Linked DNA regions of Homo sapiens: all the other regions are linked to region 3. The links are contacts of gene promoters, found by promoter capture Hi-C in human tissues and cell types (Jung and others, 2019). All regions are on one chromosome and are shown on one strand. Each heading gives the region's core, a stretch centred on a gene start or on the middle of the fragment in contact. The rest is flanking DNA. Distances are from core to core; before and after follow the strand shown.

Region 1 (3,787 bases), core at 330-2,829, 690 kb after region 3:
CTAGTTAGTGTAAGAAAATGAAAAAATAGTCCTATGAAAATTGAATAGAGATACACATCTTTGTAGATATGTTTGCATGTTTTAAAATATTTAAAAGCCACCAACACTGCTTTTCAAATACCCATTTAACCCTGTGACGTGGGTACTGTCAGCCTTGCTTTTCAGGCAGGGACAGTTACCACGGTCTCTCAGTTGCTCAGTGCAGGACCAGAACCCGTGTCAGCTCTGGAGTCTGGGCCTGGAACCCCCTGCCCTGCTAGCTACGTGGTGTGATCTCGCGTTTAGTGCCATCAGTGCTTGAAAATGGACTTTTTTCTGTATACTAGGAATTGCCAGTTAGAAGATGGGGAAAATGTTTCCATTTTAACAGTGACAAAAATGCTAAGATGTTTAGGAATGCGGCTAGTGAGAAGGAGCAGGACCAATGCAGGAAATGAGAAATGGAACTGAAAGGACACACGGGGGTTAGGTCTTGAGGGTTAGGAGATGAGGCGGCTCCGGAGAGGCCCTCCCGCAGTGATTGCGGAGCTAGAGGACATGAATTTGAGATCCATGGGGCAGCAGGATGGAGCTGTTGCTGAGAGAATTGAGAAGATGCAGAGTTGGGAGGAGAGTTGCTGCTTCTGGGTTTGAAAACCCTGGGTGAAGTGTCTGAGGTCCAGTGTGGTCTCGTCCCTGGATTATTGAAGTGTGGGCAGAACAGGAGGTGGGTGTGCAGAGCAGAGAGCTTCGGGGCCCTCCCAGAGGCGGCTTCTCCATGGGTGAGAGATGGGAGGGACCGTGCATGGCGGCCATGGGGTCTCGTGCTTGGGGAATGATTTGTCCACGTGTGACCCGAGCCTGTTCCCCGCTGCTGGCATCTGTGCAGTAGAATTGTGGGTGCTAACACAGTGGGCTCTGCTTCCAGAATGCGTCTGTATTGGCAGAAATCACAGAAACCCTGAAATTGGAACAATGTAAATGCCTGGCTTGTACCTTCTGGGAATAGTCCAGAAGACTGCTTACAATACTCTTAAATTTTTGTTTTGAAAGAAGCCCTCTCATTGCTTGCATGTGTTTGCATGAGCGTGGGCAGAGCCTGCGAGAAGCACTGGGCTGCTGCTGCCCCTCTCCTTGGCCAGGGAGAGTGGAGAGAGCAACAGGCTTCCCGCTCTGTGTTGGGGGTCAACTGTGGCTTGTGTAGGAGAGATCCAGAGGTACCCCACACATGGTCTGCACGTGTGTAGCATGTGTGGACTGTTGATGTTTGTATGGACAGTGTTTAGTCTTTGTCCCTAGAATATAAGAGAATGACTGTTAAACAGGTGAAGCATAACTTTTAAAAAAAGATAGGGAAAAGCGTGCTAGTCCTAAAATTTATATCTGACTCCCAGCAGCCCGCGTGAGATCATAACTTGTCTGCTTACGCTTTTTTGTTCTCTTTGCTTCGAAGTCGCATCTGGGACACCGCCTCAGGCCAGTGCCTGAAGACGCTCATCGGTGAGTGTGGCTCTGTGTGGGGGCTGGGTCTGTGGGGAGGGCCTCCCCTGCTGGGTTCACTGCCCCTGTTCTTCACCAGCTCCTCCTCCCTCCTCTGCCCTGGGTCCGCCCCTGCAGGAGGAACCTTCCTCCGTGTCCGACCGTTCCGCCAGCTCCCCCTGACCGCCCGCTGGCTCTGTTGCTCCTTCTGGTGCAGTTTTCCTGCCATGGCCTTTCTCTTGGGCCAGCCTGGGGCTCCTCCACCTGTGCTGTCGGCCTCACTCCGGCTGCTCACTGGAGTCCTCTGGGCAGCCCCATTGCCTCCTGGCTTCGGGCCCCTGCTGTCGTGCCAGCCTCTTGGATCATTCCTTGAGTGACCGGCTGAGTGCCTGCCCATCTGCTGGGGGTGCTGCCGAGGTGGATGGAGGTGTCCTGGGGGCACGGAGGACAGGCCTGAGGAGAGGAAGGAGGGACGTGGCGTGGCCTGGATGGGAAGGCCAGGTGCTGGGCAGGGTGTGGCCTGAGGGTCTGTGACGGCCCGGGGTTCCCAGCTGCCCCTTGCAGAGCCTGCAGAAAGGAGCGGAAGGGTTTTCATCCGGGGAGTGTTCGTGTTTAAGAAGCCTAGGCTAGATGTGTGGGATGGGGCGCACCTTGAGGAGGGAGCTGGGTGGTGAGGATGGGGGGATGGACCCCCGTGTGGGGAGGCACCCCGTTTGCGCCCTTCTTCCCTCTAGTCTGTCATAGCCTGCTGGCCTAGCTGAGACCAAGCCCCACAGGCTGGGAGGCTATCTGTGGCAGGAATGTGTCTCCCCGCAGTCCAGGAGGCTGTGGTCAGGATTGAGGAGGCCTCTTCTTGGCTTATAGACGCTGCCTTACCCTGGCTTCACACCAGTGTCCCTGGTGCCTCCGTGTGTCCAAATGTCCTCTTGTAAGGACACCACCCTTGGGCCTCATTTTCACTCTGTCGCCCTCTTTGAAGGCCCTGTCTCCAGTACACTCGCCTCTGAGGCTCTGGAGGCTTGGGCTTCAGCATGAGTCCCCTTGCCACAGCGGTCTTTATAGCTTCCTGCCTTGTGGGGCCAGCCTTTTGCCATGCATCTCTCCTGATTGAGATCACACCGCACTTGGTGTCCCCTGGACGGGCCACCTGTGCTCAGTTGTGTGCGCCGCTGTTGTGTGAGCACACGTAACCCTCACGGCCACCTCTGAGGAGGGGGGTTGTCCTCATCCTGCATAGAGGCTCATTCACTAGCCCAAAGCTCCACAGCAAGCAGGTGCAGGGACTGGGATTCCAGCCTGGGCGCCCCTGAGCCCAGGGTGGGGACGGAGGGGTCGCTGCATAGCAGTTTTCCCATCGGCGTCTCCTCAGGTCTAGCGAGTTAGACCCTTCTGGACTTCACTGAGACAGGTTGGCTGATGCGTTCATCTCTGTGAGGCTCTGCCCAGGCAGCCTGGGTTAGGCATGCGGACACGCTTGCCATCAGCTGTGTTAAGGGAGCCCGGCCCCCCGGCCCTCACTGTGACCTCGGCCTGCCTGGCGGTGTGACGTGGTGTGCCCCTGAGGGAGGGACCGCATGGCCTCACAGCGTCTCCCGTGCCTTTTCAGTGTATGTGACCGGGCTGAGGGAGCGGAGACGCCAGGTGCCTGGCGAGGCCAGGCGTCCCCGTGGTGGTAATGCTGAGGGCCGTGTCCTTCCCGGTGCTCGGGACACACCAGCGCGTGCACGTGCTTGGGGGTCGGTGGGGGTCTCTGGTGGGGCCCAGGGGTGGGGCCTGCACCAGGACACACCTTCCTTGAGATTCCCTCCTCCTCACTCAGGTGAGAGGAGATGCCTTCCTCCACTTCTGAGGGTCGTGGGGTTGCCATGTCCTGAAAACTCTGACCTGTACATCGACAGCTTCTGGGAACCTTGACTCTTTTTCAGCTGTGTGAGAAGCAGCGGCTCTGCTCTGCCCTCAGGGCTGCAGAGTCCAGCTGATAGGCCTGGGGCATTAGCTGTGGATGTGACAACAAACAGATGGGTTCTGTGGGTGCAGATGCCCCTTGCGTCGATAAATTCTTAAAGGAGAATTTCCGAGGTGATTCCCCAGCCCTCTTTGCTGCTGGTGGAGTTGTCCCTCTGTTGAGTTGGGCATTCGCCAGCCTTATCCATCCCCTGTGAGGCAGGTGATTCCTGAGAGTGCCCATGGCCTGGTGCCCCAGGAGGCCTGTATTCGTAAAGTCCTGGTGTCAAGGGGCCCCCGGGCCTATGGGCTTGAGGTGTCAAGAACCTGCTCACGGCTGGTGTGCGTGGCTAGGCCACCCTTCGGGGCGGCGAGGGGTGGTGGT
Region 2 (3,933 bases), core at 32-2,531, 600 kb after region 3:
TCTGGAGGAGCAGTGGCAGGGAGGGGCAGGGCTACATAGCTCTGCAGGGGCTCAACCAGACCTGCCAGCTAAAGGGTGGGAGACAGGAGCACTGGAACCAAGGGTGGGGGTGCTGGAGGAAGCTAGGGGAGGCCTTTCCCAGGGGCTCCCCATTCCCCATGGGTCTCCAGCCCTGGAATTTCCATAGCTCTGGGCCTCTGTACCTGTGTCCCTGACTGGATGGCCCCCACTGGGGCACTCCAGCCCGTCTCCTGGACTCTGTCCTGCGTCAGTGGGGGTCAGATGAGCCCCATCTTCCATAAGTGGAGGGGACGCTCAGAGGTGAAGGGGCACAACGTCGCCCAGGCAGAGAAGGCCAGAGCCAGCTTGAACAAAGCTGGACATCCATGCCAGACTCACCGCCAACACCCCACAGCCCCAGAATTCTCGGGATAATGCTGGGAGCAGTGCTGTGATCGGCTGTGGCAGGAGGGAGCTGAGTCTGTGAGAAGGGATCCCAGCCTGCTGCCCCCACAGCCCCATCTAACCCGGCCAACCTAGCACCTGTCCCCAGGCGGCCAGAGGGGCCTCCCCAGCCCACGTGGTGACCAGCGGCCACCCTCCAGGACTCGGGAAACTGGATCTGTCAGGGCAGGGCTGCCTTCAGTGACAGACGGAGCCAACTGCTTCCTTCTATGGAGCCAGGGGAGAAGTCGGGGGTTGGGGGCCCCCTGTAGCCCTGGAGGAGCCCTGGGGAGGGCAGCTGGGCATCGTGGGCCCCACCCAAGCAGGCACGGCCAGCCCTGGCGCCTACTCCCCAGGGGAATCTGCCCAGTGCTGTGAGCCCCCCATGCACAGCGCACCTGCTCTCCTGCAGCTGCCTGGCCGCCTGGAGGGCCCGGCTCTACAGGCCCAGCCCTGTCCCGGGGCGCTTCAGCAGACTGGTGGGGCTATCCTGGGGCATGGCCCCAGACACGCTGGGCAGGTGCAGCTGCCAGCGCTGCCTCTCCCGTGACTGTCCCCTGCACCCCACAGTTCTCCCCACTCTGCACCCACCAGTGCCTTCTAGACCTAAGACCTCATATGCCTCCTGCTTTCTGAACCCAGGGCCTGTGCTTCTCCATGGCCCCACGGCCCTGGGTGAGCGGCCTCTCTGAAGGTTTCCCTTCCTGCCATGACGCCCCCACAGCCTTCTGGCCACAACCCGTCACCTCTTCCAAGCTCCGTCCCTACCCGCCTCTCTACCCACTCCTCGAATAGAGAGGACTCAAAGGACGCTCTACCCCCGTGGGACCCTCATGAGGCGCGTGAGGAGGCCCGACCCTCCACACATGCTGGGAACGAGGAAGTTGGCCCCACAGACACTGGTCAGGCCCTCCCAACCCCAGGCCACCGCCACGTAGTCAGGGTCTCCCACGGGTCTGGGAAGGGCAGGAGAGCCACGACTCAGGCAGGGGACTCTCTTCAGAGGGGCAGTGAGTGAGGACAGCACCTGGCCCTTTAGAGGGAAGGAGACACCGTGCTCTTAGAGGGACACAGCCTCAGGGTCAGGCCCTGGTGCTCCGCACTTCCTAAAACAAAGCTGCGGCAGGCCCACCTAGCATCCATCTGTCTGCTCCATCTCCTCTCAGCCGGCCTGACAAGAACCAAACTCACAAAACACCCCGGCCCCAGGAGACAGGCCTGGCCTCACTGCTGTCCCACTCAGCCATGCCGAGCCAGGACAAGGGGCCAGCAGGGCCGCAGCTCTCAGACCATCCCCTTGGTTATTTCGTCTATGTTCTCTGCTCACCCCCAACCACAAATGCCGAGGACTGCAGGACGCCCCCAGGCCTGTTGCCGGGACAGACCGGAGGCAGAGCTAAGAGCAAAGCGTGGGCATGCAGCACATCTGTCTGTGAGTCCACAGCCCACGGAGCCACCGTGCTTGACCCTTGCCTCCTACCCAGCCCCTGGTACCAGCGAGGGCCTGGTCAGCATACCCAGGGCTCTGTCCTGTGGTGTGGGCAGATGGGGGCGGGTGGCACCCTGGACCCGCAGGCTCACACAGCTGCCCCTTTGCACATTTTGCTCCTTGTGGGATTGTCAGGCCAAGGCTCCAGTGACGCATGGCACAGGGAGGGCATCCTCTCAGCCGCTTATAGTAGATTCTTCCTTCTGCCACATGACAGGTTATAGCTACAATACTCAGCACTCCTGCAGGGGCCGGGCACCTCACACAGATGCATCTGTGCCTCATCTCGGTCAGTGCTCACACGGAGGCTAAGGCCGTCCCGCCCCAGAGTCCCACAGCTCCCAGGTACCGACTCTTAGTCCCAGGTCCTCACAGGTGCACTGAGGGCACTCCCTCTGCCCCAGACTCCAGGCCTGGCCAGCAGCCGCCTCTGCAGATCACACCCGAGTCCACTGGGTGCTTTGCAAAATGCTGCAGCTGGTTATCAAGCCACACTCAGAAAGATCCAGCCGGCGACTCCTGAACATCACTGCACCCTCAGCGGGACACTTTTCCAAGTGGCTGGAAAAGTTGTCTCCCACAATACCGGATTAACTTCTGACGAACTCAGTACCTTGGGGGCCTGCGGCAAGGAGGGGGGCGGGGGCATGTTCCACGCCCCATCTTCCCAACACCAGGCTCCGAAGGCCCTGTGAGGAGGCAGCCTGCGAACTGACTCTCAGGGAACAGCCACAGACTGGTGCGAGACGCAGACAGCCAACAGCACGGACACAACAGGGTCCGAGCCTCCAGCCACACGCACAGGTCCTGGCTCCACTGCGAGCTCAATCAGGAGTGGCCAGAAGACTTACAATTTAAACCACCAACAGGTGAATGGCCCAAAGTGACACTTTCTCTTTAAAAGAGCTCTCGGTCAGGCATGGTGGCTCACACCTGTAATCTCAGCACTTTGGGAGGCTGAGATGGGTGGATCACCTGAGGTCAGGAGTTCAAGACCAGCCCGGCCAACATGGCGAAACCCCATCTTTACTAAAAAATTAAAAAAAATTAAAAAAAATAGCCAGGCGTGGTGGCGGGCACCTGTAATCCCAGCTACTTGGCAGGCTGAGCCAGGGAGAATTGCTTGAACCCAGGAGGTGGAGGTTGCAGTGAAGGGAAATCATGCCATTACACACCAGCCTGGGCAACAGAGTGATACTCTGTCTCAAAATAAGTAAATAAATAAATGAGCTCTCAAGCATCTTGGCCGAGCATGGTGGCTCACGCTTGTAATCCCAGCACTTCAGGAGGCAGAGACGGGTGGGTCACTCACGGCCAAGAGTTTGAGACCAGCCTGGCCAACATGGTGAAACGCCATCTCTACTAAAAATACAAACAAACAAACAAATAAGCAAGCCCTCAAGCCTCTCAGATGGCAGGAGCCCAGGAACCAGAGCAGGGAGGCCCGGGCACAGGGGCCCATGATGTCTGTGCCCATGATTTCACAGGAAGGAGAATAGGCAAAGAAAACCCTATGCTCCGCCACCAGCTGGGCACCTCTACAAGGTGGCAGTACCAACAAAAACACAGGAGCAAGGCCATTCTTGGCAAACGCTGACCCAAATGCACCTGGCACCCCATCATGCTTTGCTACCTGTGCATCTCTTCTGCTCCAACAAGGGGGCGGAGCCACAGGGGTCGGGAAGGCCCAAGGCAGACCCGCAAGTTCCAAAACCTTTTACGGCAAGAAGCCTTGCATTCTACCATGATTCATCCAGTTACCTTCTAGCTTCAACCAGATACTGGCTTCGTGATATAAGGGACCTGCTGGCTAGGCACGGTGGCTCATGCCTGTAATCCCAGCACTTTGGGAGGCCAAGGCAGGTGGATCACGAGGTGAGGAGTTCGAGACCAGCCTGTCCAACACAGTGAAACCCTGTCTCTACTAAAAATACAAAAAATTAGCTGGGCGTGGTGGCGGACGCCTGTAATCCCAGCTACTTGGGAGGCTGAAGCAGGAG
Region 3 (4,223 bases), core at 1,541-4,040:
CCTCGATATCCTCTGATAGCCCTCTCGGTTGTCCTGGGGGGCTTGCCCTCTCCCAACAGCCCGAGCTGGCCGAAGTTGGCTTCCCTAGCTGGTTCCAGAGGTTCCTCGGCTCCCCCAGGTGTCTGGGGCTTAGTGGCAACAGGGGCTTAGCCTCTGCAGAGACCTAGTGCGCCGCCTCCTTGCCCCAGACCTGCCCGGGCAGAGAGCCGTGTATGTGTCCCAGTGCACAGGCGCTGCTGGGCCCTGCCAAAAGGCCACAAGCCCACTGTCACCGTTCACATTGCTTCTCGCTTCCCGGCCCAGCCCCGCCCACACAGGCATCTGCCTTGAAAGAGGTGCAGGAGGTACAGGCAGGTGGGGGCTCCAGTGAGCTCTGAGGAACAGCAGTGGCCGCCATGGGTGGAGCCTATCTTTGTTGCCAGTTTCAGTGTTAAACACTCTTGCACGTGTGACATCATTGAGTCCTAAAGACCACTCTGCTCAGTGCATGCCATTGTTTCCTTCAGTTACAGAGGAGGGAACCAGAGCCCAGAACATTTAGCCTTTGCCTAAAGTCACTGGGCCAGGAAGTGGTAGAGGTGGGGTTCAGCAGGATTTGCCTGGGAACCCCAATATTGACCACAGTGCCATGCTGCCCTGCACGGCTCCCTGGCTGTGAGTTGTCCTGGCCTCTGGCACCACCGGTCTGTCTGGGTTCCTATGTCCCTATGTCCCACCTGCAGAATGTGACATGCAGCTCTTTGGGCCCTGGGGTGAAATCGTGAGCCCCTCGCTGAGTCCAGCCACGAGTAATGCAGGGGGCTGCCGGCTCTTCATTAATGTGGCTCCGCACGCACGGATTGCCATCCATGCCCTGGCCACCAACATGGGCGCTGGGACCGAGGGAGCCAATGCCAGCTACATCTTGGTGAGGCCCAGCATGGGGACTTGTGCTGTGATTCTGGACAGCTTTCCCTAGGGCGTGCAGGGCTAGGGGACCCCCTTCAGTTTATTTCAGACTAAAACCCTCAAAATCATTAGTGAAAGAATGGGAGAAGATAGCTTCCTCCACATATTCACCAAGAAATGTTTTTTGAGCTACCTACAAGAGTGAAATAGTGGCTCACAACTGTAATCCCAGCACTTTGGGAGGCCCAGGAGGGCAGATCACTCAAGGTCAGGAGTTCGAGACCAGCCTGGCCAACATGATGAAACCTTGTCTCTACTAAAAATAGAAAAAGTAGCCAGGCATGGTGGCGTGTGCCTGTAATCCCAGCTACTTGGGAGGCTGAGGCACAAGAATCACTTGAACCCGGGAGGTGGAGGTTGCACTAAGCCCAGATCGCACCACTGCACTCCAGCCTGGGCAACAGAGTGAGACTCTGTCTCAAAAAAAAAAAAAAAAAAAAAGCGAAATGGTAAAGAATGGTAAAGACCTTTCTGATGTAGACTGACAGCTAACCCAAGACTGAAGCATAATTTTACAGTCTGATATAACTTGGACAGAATAGCACCCTGCACCCTCCCCGAGGTTTCAAGTGTCCTGGGAGAACTGTGTTCTGCAGGGTATCAGCTTCCCCAGAGGAGGCAGCCTGGCCCCGCTCTGGCACCCTGACTGTGTGTCCTTGGGGAAGTGATGTAACGTCCCTGGACCTCGGTTTTCTGGGTAGAGTAATGGCGTATTCCTAGTAGGGCTTTGTAAGCATTAAATGTGATCCGGAATCTGTGAGCCCTTGCACACGAAGGCTTCCGTGAGTGCTAATTATTACTTGTGGCCGGTCCTTCTGGGCTGCCCCTTTTCTCTCAGATCCGGGACACCCACAGCTTGAGGACCACAGCGTTCCATGGGCAGCAGGTGCTCTACTGGGAGTCAGAGAGCAGCCAGGCTGAGATGGAGTTCAGCGAGGGCTTCCTGAAGGCTCAGGCCAGCCTGCGGGGCCAGTACTGGACCCTCCAATCATGGGTACCGGAGATGCAGGACCCTCAGTCCTGGAAGGGAAAGGAAGGAACCTGAGGGTCATTGAACATTTGTTCCGTGTCTGGCCAGCCCTGGAGGGTTGACCCCTGGTCTCAGTGCTTTCCAATTCGAACTTTTTCCAATCTTAGGTATCTACTTTAGAGTCTTCTCCAATGTCCAAAAGGCTAGGGGGTTGGAGGTGGGGACTCTGGAAAAGCAGCCCCCATTTCCTCGGGTACCAATAAATAAAACATGCAGGCTGACCGGCGTTTTTTTCTTATAAGCTGTCCAGACCTGGCTTGAAAACCCATCCCATGGCAAGGCAGGGATTCGCTGGCCGCGGTTGGCTCTATCTTGATCTGAGCAAGCCGCTGGACGTCCCTAGTTATCTTCTTCCTATCCAGGAAGAAAATCCAATCAGGATTCCACTCCGAGGATGGCGCATTAGCCAGCTCCCTGCGAAGCCCCACCCGTGTGTCCTGGTGTGAGGCTCTGACCGCTAAGGTGTCTGCGCGCCTCCAGGCCCCGCCCCCTATGCTAATAAGCGCCCGCCTCCTTTGGGAGCAAGTCGCCGCAAACTGCGAGCCCCCGCCCCCTACGCTAATGACGCCCGCCCCCCTCGGGCACACCTCTCCGATGCCTGCGAGCCCCGCCCCGTATGCTAACGAGCTCCCCACCCCCAGCTCCTCGCCGCAGCCTGCGGGTCCCGCCCCCTACAATAATGAGCACCTACCTCCCCTCAAACGCCCCTAGTCGCGGCATGAGGGTCCCGCTCACTATGTTAATGAGCACCCGCCTCCCTTCGGGCGCGCCTCGCCGCAGCCTGAAAGCCCCGCCCCCTATGCTAATATGCTCCCTCTCCCACAAGGCAGCGCGCCGGCTCGGACGCGGCCGGCTACCGAGCCCTTTGTGAGGGCTGTGAGCTGCGCCTGACGGTGGCACCATGAGCAGCTCAGGTGGGGCGCCCGGGGCGTCCGCCAGCTCTGCGCCGCCCGCGCAGGAAGAGGGCATGACGTGGTGGTACCGCTGGCTGTGTCGCCTGTCTGGGGTGCTGGGGGCAGTCTGTGAGTATCCAGTCGGGGAGAGGGGCCGGCCCCGCCGCGCATGCGCTCCTCGCCCTGCCCTGCCCCGCCCCGCCCCGGCGGCCCCAGGGGAAAGGACCCGCTGGGGGTCGGGGGTCTGCCGGGCGCCTCCCGGGGCGGAGGAATGGCGGGGCCGCCGGGAGCCGGCGTCCTGGGGTTGCCATGGTTACCCGCTCGGGCCTGGGCGCCTTGGTACCCCGGGCTGGGCTGGGCTGGCGCTTCTGGGAACATTCCCGGAGGGACCAGAAACCCCAGGGCGGGGGGGCGGCGGGGGCGGGGGTGGGGCACCGGCCTGGGGCACGTGACTGAGCCCTCCCCCCGCTCCCCAGGGGCTTTTGTGAGACTTTCTCGGTGATGCTCACGGGGCGCATGCCCACCTGGCCCGTACTAAAGCGTCAACTGTTGACTTGGGCGTAGGTGACGGCAGCCACATTGCTAACCTTTGGGCAAGGATTGTTTGTAAGGGAGGCGGGTGCACGGCTGGCTAGATTTCTGGCAGGAAGCCACTGGGCGGAAGTTTGCTGAGGGTCAGGTGGTGTCAGGGCACAGGTGGCCCCTGGGGCCGCGGGGCAGTGAGCTGAGGGCCCGGCCTCTCCCTGGGTCCTCTGTCCGCTCTCATATCTCCCCCGTTGCTGCTGCCTTAGCCGCCTGTCACCGGCCTTCCTCCCCTTCTCCGCACGCATCCCAGTCACAGACCCTGACCTTAGGCTGCCAGGGAAGCTAGGCTCTTAAGCACAGCCAGAAAAGGACAAAGAGGGAGGCAGGTCAGCTCCAGGAGTGAATGGAAGCCGTACAGCTGGCCTTCCAGGGAAAGACAAGTCTGTCTGAGTGATACCCTTTCCTTTCCTGTCTGCCCTCAATCTTGTGGATTACTGGAGTGGGCAAGGTCTTAGAGAATGTCTGTCGAGGATGTCTGCAGGTTTTAAACAGTGCCTGCCTGGCAGAGAGGGCTAGCTCTGGGCCTGGGCAGGGCAGGCCCCATCAGCAATCCTGCCAGAAGGACCACCTTTTCAGGGTCACCTTGGGTTCCACAGCCTTTCCAGGTGGGTAGAGGGTGGAGGGAGGTTGAGGCAGGAGGGTGCTGGGCTAGGAGTGTGCTGCCCTCGCTAGGCATGCCCTTATCCAGAGGCAACGGATACGGTAGGGCAGGCCCTACCCCCAAATCACAAAAAGGCCCCGAGTTTGTGTCACTGCTCTTCAGGGCA
Region 4 (3,651 bases), core at 309-2,808, 530 kb after region 3:
GTGACCGCCACCCCCGCCACCTGCACCTGACCACTGACATCCTGCGGGAAGAGGCGCTGGCTCCCAGGGAGGCCTCTGAGGGCTCCTGCTAAGCCGGTCCAGGCAGTGCTGGGTAATCATTACCCAGTGGGAAGGCGGCCCCTTCCCCTCTGGGCTTGCCTTTGTCAGCGCCCCCCAACCCGGCAGAGAAAGGCCCGGTCTCCTAGGAAACGCAGTCACCGCCAAAGGGCAGAGGCCTCGCTGCCCAGCCTGGAATCGCTGGTGACTCACTCTCCCTCCTTCCCAGGAACCACGTCCTAAGTCCCACTGGTGAATGGTCCCTCTCCACATGGAGTTGCCACTGCGCGCGGTGAGGGGCTGCTGAGCTGGCTGGAAGACCGCACCTCCTCGGCGCTGGGTGGACCCGGCTGCCACCCGCTCTGCCTCCCCCGACCTCTTCTAAGCTGCTCCCGGTAAGGATTCCGCGACCCCCGGAGAACAGGACGGAAGCCTCGATTCTCTCAAGTCTTAGCCAAGTTCCCTCTTAAGAGGCCAAGAAAAGCAGCTTCGTTCGGCTGGGCAGGCATTTTCCTGCCTGGCCCTGCGGCCGCACGCGTGCCTCCGCCGCGACAAAGGCCACACTCAGCGCCCGAAGGAGGGGTGGGGGTGTTGGGAAAGCGATGGGGGCCAGGACTGGGGCCAAGTGGCCCTGGGGATCCTCGAGGCGGCTCGACCCGGGAGCCAGGACTGGCGCCAAGTGGCCCGGGTCCGGGTCCGGGAAGAGGCGGAGGCCGGCGAGGGGGCGGTGCCCGGGGCCAACCCAGCTCCCTCCGGCCCCGAGGGCTCCCGCCCCGCGCCCCTCCCGGGCCCTCCAGCCGCGCCCCGGGCCGGCGCAGCGACCGCGCCCGCTCTTCCACCGGCGTCCGGCCAGGAGGCGCGAGGCCCAAGGATGCGACCCACGACGCGCACACCCGGCTCGGCAGGCTCCCTGGGAAATGAGGGGCCACTCGCAGGGCCCCGCAGAGCGAGCGCAGCGCCGGAGCCTCCCCCATCCCAGGCCGCGCAGACCGCGGAACCGGCGCACCAGAGCAGTGCCCGCGGGCGGCGGCGGCGCGACCCAGGCTGAGGGGACTTTGGCCAACTTCGCGCCTCCTGAGGTCGCGTCTCGGAGGCCCGGGGCGCACCCTCCAGCCGCCCGCCCGCGTCCCGGAGCCCGGCCGCCCCAGCCAGGGCGCCTGGGCCGCCGCCGCTGCGACCTCCGCGTTCAGTCCGCGCGTCGGGCAGCGCGAACGCCGCCTCCCCGGGGCCCTCCCGCCCGCCGGGCGCTCACCTGGGACATCTGCGGCCGGAAGTTGATGTCCTTGAGGTCGATGGAGCCGGGGGAGAGGTTGTGCAGCAGCTGGCACAGAAGGACCCCGTCGCGCAGCGCCTGCGCCAGGTCGAAGACCACGGCCGAGGGCCACACCACCCGGTGGTTGGGCGGCAGGACCTTGCAATCGATGAGCCAGCGGCCGCACTGCCGCCACTGCTCCATGGCGCCCGCGGGCCCGACCGGCTCAGGGCAGTGCTCGAGCCAAAGTGCAGCGGCCGCGGGGCATCCCGCCCGCGCGCGCGCGGGGCTCAGGGCCGGGGCGGGGCTTCGCGCGGGCTGCCCCAGGTCCCCCGCTGCGCCGCCGTGCGTCCCCTCCTCTTCCTCCTCCTACTCCTCGGGCTCCTCTCGGGCCGCCGCTCCCGCCCACGTGCGGCCGCGGGGCGGGCAACGGGCAGCGCGCCGGATCTCCCCGCTTCACACACGCAAGTGCCTGCGGGCCCCGGGCCGGGCTCCACGCAGCCAGTCGCCGCAGCGCTCCCCAATCCGCGCCGCCGGGCGCCGCATTCTGCGCTCGGGGCGCCCCGCGGCCGCCGCGGCTCCTGCCCCGCCCGAGACAAAGGCCCGGCGGGGTCGCTCGCTCCGCGCGTCCCGGGCCTGGGCCGCCCGCGTCGCCGCCGCTTTGTTCGCCCCACCCGCAGTCCCCACGCCCGGCGCTGCGACTCGACGACTCGGCGGCTCGGCGGCTCCACGGCTCCGGGGCGCTGGGGGCGCAGGGGGCGCGGCCACGGCCGGGCGGGGCAGGGGCGGGGCCGGAGCACTCGCCTGGCACCTCCCCGTGTCCCAAGCGCCGCCCCCGCCCCCCCACTTCCTGCCCCGCTACCGCCCGCGAAAGTTGCGGTGGGCGGGGGTTGCGGCGCAGGCCCAGGTCCGGCCGACTTTCTCCAAGGGCGCTCGGACTTTGGGGAGCCCTTCTCCCTGGGGGAGCGACCTCGCCCGTGGAGTGATGGCCGGGCGTCCCCCCGGGTGCCTTTGGTCCTCCGTGGAGGTCAGGAGGTGGTCCCTGTCGCGCTGGGCGCCCTCGCATGGCCGTTCGGTAACGACAGACTCGGGAGAGGGCACCGGGCTGGGCCGAAGCTTACTGAGCCCCCTTGGCCCATCAAGCCGCCCCGGCGGGATACCCGAGGCTGAGGCTGAAGGCACACGGGCCCAGGACTCCCAGAGCCCTCTTCCTGTCCTCCGCCCTGGCCGGGGGCCCATAGGAAGACCCCCGACCCTGCATAAAGGCCAGGATTCCCCAGCTTTTGGCCAAAGTCCTGGCCACTCGCAGCTGCCCAGCGGGCAGTTCCTGGCGTCCAGGGCGGAATGCGTGACATGAGTGAGGGCAGGAAGGTGCTCTCCGGCCCAGGGTCGCAGCCGGCCCCGGTGCTGATCCGCCCTGATCTCCCTTCTAGGCCACACCCTGGGTGGTGGGGGCGCGGTCTGTCCAGCTGGCAACGTGTGACGGTAGGAGGGGCTTCAAGGACAAACAGATTCTGCAACTGAAATTATATGGATCCTGGCTCAGCTGCCGGGAACCGCGGGTTTTCACTGCTGATTCACTGGGGGACACCAGGCAAGTCCAAGCCCTTCTCTGAGACTGGCTCAGCCCGGAGGCTGGGGTGCGGTGTCTGAGGGCTCCCACCCTGGACTCCGGTGGAATCCTGGGCCTGTATGAGCTGGGGCTGCACTGCAGCCCCCGGACCCCTTACCCCGTGGCTTCCCTGCGCAGGGGCCGGAACGGGGATGCGAGCGCAGAGAGGGTCCCCTGGGCCCAGGGCCTCCGATGGGGGTCCTGTCCTGGAAATTGGTCTCTGCAGAGTCAGACTCACCCCTTCTCCACTGAGGTGGAAGCAGGGGGTCCCAGCTTAGGGTCTGGCCCGTAGAGAGAGGTCAGGAAGGAGCTGGCCCCTGCAGCAGTAAACTCAGGCCAGGTGGCTGGTGAGGCGGGGGCTCAGGTCTCTTGCCCTTCCCCGAGGAAGCAGCAGTGGGCACCTTTAGGGCAAGGGGGAGAGCTTTCCTCACCGAAGCAAGATGGGGCAGCAGGTGGACCCATCAGCATCTCCCTAAGAAATCAGAAAGCCAGGAGTGAAACCTGAGCGGGGCCCTCCAGCCCCATCTGAGAGCCTACACTGATCCCTCCTCCTGCAAAGCCTCATCCCCTCCTCTCTAGAGCGGGGAGACCCGGCTCCCACTGGACTTGCTTGTGAAGAATGGACGGATAAATTACCCAGAGGCTTCCCACTGTGCTGGGACAGAAAGGGCTCAGAGAGGAAGAAGAGCTACCCACTCTCCCAACCCCTCGCCTGGACCGCCGGCGCATT

Evidence for each region. Contacts are between HindIII fragments. The study calls those that stand out against the background at their distance.
Region 1: a fragment that was not itself captured here is called in contact with the fragment with the promoter of CACFD1 in region 3 in 1 of the 25 tissues and cell types used here (lymphoblastoid cells).
Region 2: a fragment that was not itself captured here is called in contact with the fragment with the promoter of CACFD1 in region 3 in 1 of the 25 tissues and cell types used here (dorsolateral prefrontal cortex).
Region 4: the fragment with the promoter of VAV2 here is called in contact with the fragment with the promoter of CACFD1 in region 3 in 1 of the 25 tissues and cell types used here (lymphoblastoid cells).

The regions. Positions count from the first base shown.
Region 1 is chr9:134,150,551-134,154,337 of GRCh38, forward strand. It overlaps WDR5 (WD repeat domain 5), which reads left to right. Exons shown (of 14, transcript NM_017588.3): 9 at 1,433-1,479. Among named protein-coding and RNA genes, the nearest start is that of RNU6ATAC, 12 kb to the right of the region's middle. RefSeq lists enhancers at 1,316-1,836, 1,837-2,356. The HindIII fragment of the contact is 8,625 bases long and covers 1-3,787 here.
Region 2 is chr9:134,061,402-134,065,334 of GRCh38, forward strand. The region is part of intron 1 of BRD3 (bromodomain containing 3); the gene reads right to left. Among named protein-coding and RNA genes, the nearest start is that of BRD3, 4.7 kb to the right of the region's middle. RefSeq lists an enhancer at 1,188-2,099. The HindIII fragment of the contact is 7,576 bases long and covers 1-3,933 here.
Region 3 is chr9:133,457,188-133,461,410 of GRCh38, forward strand. It overlaps CACFD1 (calcium channel flower domain containing 1), which reads left to right and starts at 2,791. Exons shown (of 5, transcript NM_017586.5): 1 at 2,791-3,000. The coding sequence starts at 2,880. It overlaps ADAMTS13 (ADAM metallopeptidase with thrombospondin type 1 motif 13), which reads left to right. Exons shown (of 29, transcript NM_139027.6): 28 at 723-907; 29 at 1,787-2,199. The coding sequence ends at 1,993. RefSeq lists enhancers at 1-736, 260-554 and silencers at 2,387-2,606, 2,617-2,716, 3,007-3,306. The HindIII fragment of the contact is 20,945 bases long and covers 1-4,223 here.
Region 4 is chr9:133,990,766-133,994,416 of GRCh38, forward strand. It overlaps VAV2 (vav guanine nucleotide exchange factor 2), which reads right to left and starts at 1,559. Exons shown (of 30, transcript NM_001134398.2): 1 at 1,310-1,559. The coding sequence starts at 1,513. RefSeq lists enhancers at 1-601, 602-1,329, 2,058-2,785, 2,682-2,871 and silencers at 712-1,151, 1,192-1,281, 1,552-1,701, 1,762-1,861, 1,962-2,271. The HindIII fragment of the contact is 15,000 bases long and covers 1-3,651 here.